Linked DNA regions of Homo sapiens: region 1 is linked to region 2. Evidence: promoter capture Hi-C in 16 types of primary human blood cells and fetal thymus (Javierre and others, 2016). All regions are on one chromosome and are shown on one strand. Each heading gives the region's core, a stretch centred on a gene start or on the middle of the fragment in contact. The rest is flanking DNA. Distances are from core to core; before and after follow the strand shown. Region 1 overlaps LINC01531 (long intergenic non-protein coding RNA 1531). Region 2 holds the start of SBSN (suprabasin).

Region 1 (2,796 bases), core at 110-2,609, 120 kb after region 2:
GGTCTTGAACTCCTGGCCTCAGGTGATCTGCCTGCCTCAGCCTCCCAAAGTGCTGGAATTACAGGCATGAGCCACCATGCCCGGCACACCCCTCCCTCTTATCACTGTGTCCCACCCCTAGGAGCAGGACTTCCCCAAGGTCATTGAGAGTAACATTGTAAATGGTGGCATCTTGAGCCCATCTTTAGGAGAAAGGTCTCCCATAAGTTTACAGAAATCAAGTGACCTAACGTCACATCACAGTCCCTTTCTGGTGGACACTCACTCTCCCCACCATTAACCTGAAAACCGGAGAGGGCTGAAGGAGCCTTGCCGGTAACCTTCAAACTTCCATTCCTCGCTTAACACAATGCCTCAGGAACCATTTATTTACCGGGAGGTGCAATGGAACTAGTTGAATCGCCCTAGCTTATATTAACTAGGTGCTATCAAGTAGTCTAACAGTAAAATTGAGGCTTTCACAAAGGCTTTGTGAATTCCCCCGTTCAAAATAAAACACACTAAGCCTGTTTATAACTTTTGCCCTGAAAATCTTTCTTTAATCTTTGCTGACAGGAATTAAATATGCACTTTCCCTAGGATGACATAGGACAAATATAATTAGTATTATGCTTTCCTTCTCCCCCAGTTCCTATAGCCTCTAAGATTGGAAATCCTACATATAGTTTGGGTTAATATTCCACCTAATTGTAGATGAAGTAATCCTTCCCCATAAAACAAGAAGAAAAACTCCAATTTAAACAATCCTTAGGCCAGGCGCGGTGGCTCAAACCTGTAATTCTAGCACTTTGAGAGGCTGAGGTTGATGAATCACTTGAGGCCAGGAGTTCAAGACCAGCCTGGCCAACATGGTGAAACCCCATCTCTACTAAAAATACAAACATTTGCCAGGTGTGGTGGCGCATGCCTGTAATCCCAGCAACTCGGGAAGCTGAGGCATAAGAATTGCTTGAGCCTGGGAGGCGGAGGTTGCAGTGAGCCAAGCTCATGCCACTGCACTGCAGCAGTCTGGGTTACAGAGCGAGACTCTGTCTCAAAAAAAAAAAAAAAAAAAAAAAAAAAGCATCTTTAGAACAGGAACTAACATAACATGGTGAATACAGGTCTGTGCGGCGCAATTACATCCCATCCATCTGAGCCGGCTTTGTTACTTCTTTATCTCCTCATGGAATAGTTCTGATTGTTAAGTATCATATTTAATATCTCAACAAGCTTTGCATTTTATCAGGCAAACTTTAAACTCACTTTGAGAGGTTAAGTGGCATTAGACTTTATGAAATTTCGAATCATTAAAGACACATCAGGTAGCAGAAGGTTTTATATGTGCACAATTGCACTTAGCAGAGTAATCCTGTCTGTCATCTCACCAGGTCAGCAATTCTCAAACTTGTGGATCTCAAGGTCGGTTTATACTCTTGAAAATTACTGAAGGGATGGGTGTGGTGGCTCACCCCTCTAATCCCAACACTTTGGGAGGCTGAGGCAGGTGGATTGCTTTAAGCTTAGGAGTTTGAGACCAACCCGGGCAACATGGCAAAACCCCATCTCCACAAAAAATACAAGAATTAGCTGAGCATGGTGGCGTGCACCTGTAGTTCCAGCTACTTGGGAGGCTGAGGTGGGAGGGTTGCTTGAGCCTGGGAAGACGAGGCTGCAGTGAGTTGTGTTCATGCCACTGCACTCACCCTGGGTGGCAGAGTGAGACACTGTCTCGAAAAAAAAAAGAAAAAAGAAAAAAAAGGAAAGAAAAGCAAAAATGAAAATTCCTGCCAGGCGTGGTGGCTCATATCTATAATCCTAGGACCTTGGGAGACTGAGGTGGGCAGATCATGAGGTCAGGAGTGCGAGACCAGCCTGACCAACATGGTGAAACCCTGTCTCTACTAAAAATACAAAAATTAGCCGGGCATGGTGGCTTGTGCCTGTAATCTCAGCTACTTGGGAGGCTGAGGCAGGAGAATCGCTTGAAGCCAGGAGGCAGAGGTTGCGGTGAGCCGAGATCACACCACTGTACTCCAGCCTTGGCAACAAGAGTGAAACTGCGTATCAAAAAAAACAAAAAAAAAAAACAAAAAAAAAACAAAGTTAAAACAGAAAAATTTAAAAATGTGTATTAACTTATCTTATAATAATAATAACCATAAAACCATTACATGTTAATATAAATGACACGTTCCTAGAAAAAACAACTATATCTTCAAAAAATTCGTGACAGTGGCATTGTTTTACATTTTTGCAGATCTCTTTAATGCCTGGCTTAATAGAAGACAGCTGTATTTTCCTATCTGGTCTGCATTCATTCCGTCATGATATCACGTCACGTAGCTCTCAAAACCTCCACTGTGCACATTATTTGTGAGATAATGAAGGTGAAGAGAGCAATCAGCATTTTAATAGCATTATGAATAGTTTTGACCTCACAGACAGTGCTTTGAAAACTGCTGCCCTAGATTCACATAGTTCGAAGCTACTTGGGTTGGGTTTTCCTTGATGTGTGGTATTAAAGGGAAGAAGGAAGGGAGGGAGGGAGTAACTCATTGAGGAACTCCTACCATCTTACAGTGTTTAAAATAACCACTAAATAATGGAAACAGAACATACAGTTTCCAAGTCAGTGGAGGAATAAATGAAATGAGAAAGAAAAGAAATAAACGAACTGAATCTCAAAAGAAGGCTAGAGAGAAGAAAAAAAGAAATATTAAAAGGTGAGGGATGGCTTGGCAAGGTGGCTCACACCTGTAATACCAGCACTTTGGGAGGCCGAGGTGGTTGGATCACCTAAGGTCAGCAGTTCAA
Region 2 (2,700 bases), core at 172-2,671:
CCACCCACTGGCTCTCGTTCTGGTCTTAGCCTCCCTCCCAACTGGCTTCTAGATGCATCTGCTGCCCCAAGCCTGCCCACCACCACCTGCCCTTCCTTCCGATGCCCTTTTCATGCCTGAGGCCAGACTCTCAGCTGTTTCCCCTCCAACCCGAGCCAATATGTCAACACTTGGGGCTTCAGGTTGGGGCTTAGGAGGCCCCATGTCGGGAGGGCAGGAAGGATGAGGGCCTGGCCCCAGCCCAGGTTCTGGCTCACAGGCTCCTGCTGCCCTGGGTCTTCGGCCCCTCCCCGTGGCTGCCTCAACCGGCTTTTCAGGAGACACTGCGTCCTGTTCCAGCTCGTGGCAATCAGCCCCCTGCCCTTGCCCAAGGGCTGGGAGGCAGGAGGTCTGGGTTCTGCGACAGGAATGGGATCCTGCCTCCAAAATCTGCGGCACTCCACAAGGGACTCTATGCTGCCCTGGCGACCCAGGCGCCCTTCCCTCCAGCACCCTGTGAGACCCAGACTCGGGCTCGGAGTCTCTTTCCTTGGCCTGTTCGAATCCATCCATTTGTCCAGTCAATAAATATTTACTGAACCCCAGGCAGTGTTCAAGAAGCTAGGAATACAGCAGTGATCAACACGACCAATTTACATTGCTAGTAGGTGAGACAGGCAATAAAAAATAAAGGTAATTTCAGATTTTTTTTTTCTGTGAAAACAAAAGGGTGATACTACAGAGTATAATTAATGCCATGTTATGGTCAGGAGAGGTTTTCTTGCGAAGTTGGCATTTAAGTCAAGTACGGATGAGGAGGAGCCAGCCACGTGAAGATCTGGGTTCTGCATTCCAGGCAGAGAGAGGAGCATGTGCAAAGGCCCTGCAGCAGGAATGAGCTTGGTGTGTTTGTGGAACAGGGAGAAGGCCTGTGTGGCTGGAATGGAATGAGTGAGGGCAGGGGCTGGCCCACAAGAACGAGGTCTGATGACTCCTTCATCCCACCTAGTGTTCTCCCCTCTCCAGACGGTGCCTCCCATCATTCTAGCCCCTCACTGCCTGGGGAGCTGGAGGCTTAGATGCCTGAGAGGAGTGAGGTGTTGAAGAATTGCCTGCATCCCAGGGATGGAGCATGGTGGAAGGTGGGTTTGCGAGAGAGGAGGCCTGGACAGTGGGTGAGGAATGAAAGAGGAGGTGGTTGGAAGGGCAGACACCCATCTCTGGGGTGGAGGGCAAGGAGCAAAGATGCCAGAGTTCTTCTCCATCCATGACTCACCCTCTCTTCCTCCTCCTCTCCATTGCTCAACTCCAAATCTCCCTGGGAAACACCTCCTTGACTGAAGACCAACTCAGTGCCTCACAGGGGTAATTGAGTCATGAGGGGTGGAGAAGAGGGCGAGAGGGAGAGAGGATAAATAGCAGCGTGGCTTCCCTGGCTCCTCTCTGCATCCTTCCCGACCTTCCCAGCAATATGCATCTTGCACGTCTGGTCGGCTCCTGCTCCCTCCTTCTGCTACTGGGGGCCCTGTCTGGATGGGCGGCCAGCGATGACCCCATTGAGAAGGTCATTGAAGGGATCAACCGAGGGCTGAGCAATGCAGAGAGAGAGGTGGGCAAGGCCCTGGATGGCATCAACAGTGGAATCACGCATGCCGGAAGGGAAGTGGAGAAGGTTTTCAACGGACTTAGCAACATGGGGAGCCACACCGGCAAGGAGTTGGACAAAGGCGTCCAGGGGCTCAACCACGGCATGGACAAGGTTGCCCATGAGATCAACCATGGTATTGGACAAGCAGGAAAGGAAGCAGAGAAGCTTGGCCATGGGGTCAACAACGCTGCTGGACAGGTTGGGAAGGAGGCAGACAAACTGATCCATCATGGGGTCCATCACGGGGCCAACCAGGCGGGAAGTGAGGCAGGGAAGTTTGGCCAGGGAGTCGACAATGCTGCAGGGCAGGCTGGAAATGAGGCTGGGAGGTTTGGCCAGGGAGTCCACCATGCTGCAGGGCAGGCCGGAAATGAGGCTGGGAGGTTTGGCCAGGGAGTCCACCATGCTGCAGGGCAGGCCGGAAATGAGGCTGGGAGATTTGGCCAGGGGGCCCACCATGGTCTCAGTGAGGGCTGGAAGGAGACAGAGAAGTTTGGCCAGGGGATCCACCATGCTGCCGGTCAGGTTGGGAAGGAGGCAGAGAAGTTTGGCCAGGGGGCCCACCATGCTGCGGGGCAGGCCGGAAATGAGGCAGGGAGATTTGGCCAGGGGGTCCACCATGGTCTCAGTGAGGGCTGGAAGGAGACAGAGAAGTTTGGCCAGGGGGTCCACCATACTGCTGGTCAGGTTGGGAAGGAGGCAGAGAAGTTTGGCCAGGGGGCCCACCATGCTGCGGGGCAGGCCGGAAATGAGGCAGGGAGATTTGGCCAGGGGGCCCACCATGCTGCGGGGCAGGCCGGAAATGAGGCTGGGAGGTTTGGCCAGGGGGTCCACCATGGTCTCAGTGAGGGCTGGAAGGAGACAGAGAAGTTTGGCCAGGGGGTCCACCATGCTGCCAGTCAGTTTGGGAAGGAAACAGAGAAGCTCGGCCATGGGGTCCACCATGGGGTTAATGAGGCCTGGAAGGAAGCAGAGAAGTTTGGCCAGGGTGTCCACCATGCTGCCTCGCAGGTGGGGAAGGAGGAAGACAGAGTGGTCCAAGGCCTCCATCATGGCGTTAGTCAGGCTGGAAG

What was found. Contacts are between HindIII fragments. The CHiCAGO score rates a contact against its expected background, and 5 or more counts as called.
Region 1: a contact is called between a fragment that was not itself captured here and the fragment with the promoter of SBSN in region 2, in 4 of 17 cell types (M2 macrophages, M1 macrophages, M0 macrophages and 1 more). The highest score is 6.0, in M2 macrophages.

What each region holds. Positions count from the first base shown.
Region 1 is chr19:35,411,358-35,414,153 of GRCh38, reverse strand. The region is part of intron 4 of LINC01531 (long intergenic non-protein coding RNA 1531); the gene reads right to left. Among named protein-coding and RNA genes, the nearest start is that of LINC01531, 7.1 kb to the right of the region's middle. The HindIII fragment of the contact is 289 bases long and covers 1,215-1,503 here.
Region 2 is chr19:35,527,032-35,529,731 of GRCh38, reverse strand. SBSN (suprabasin) reads left to right here and starts at 1,421. Exons shown (of 4, transcript NM_001166034.2): 1 at 1,421-2,700. The coding sequence starts at 1,451. RefSeq lists enhancers at 270-770, 2,216-2,700. The HindIII fragment of the contact is 2,098 bases long and covers 1-1,794 here.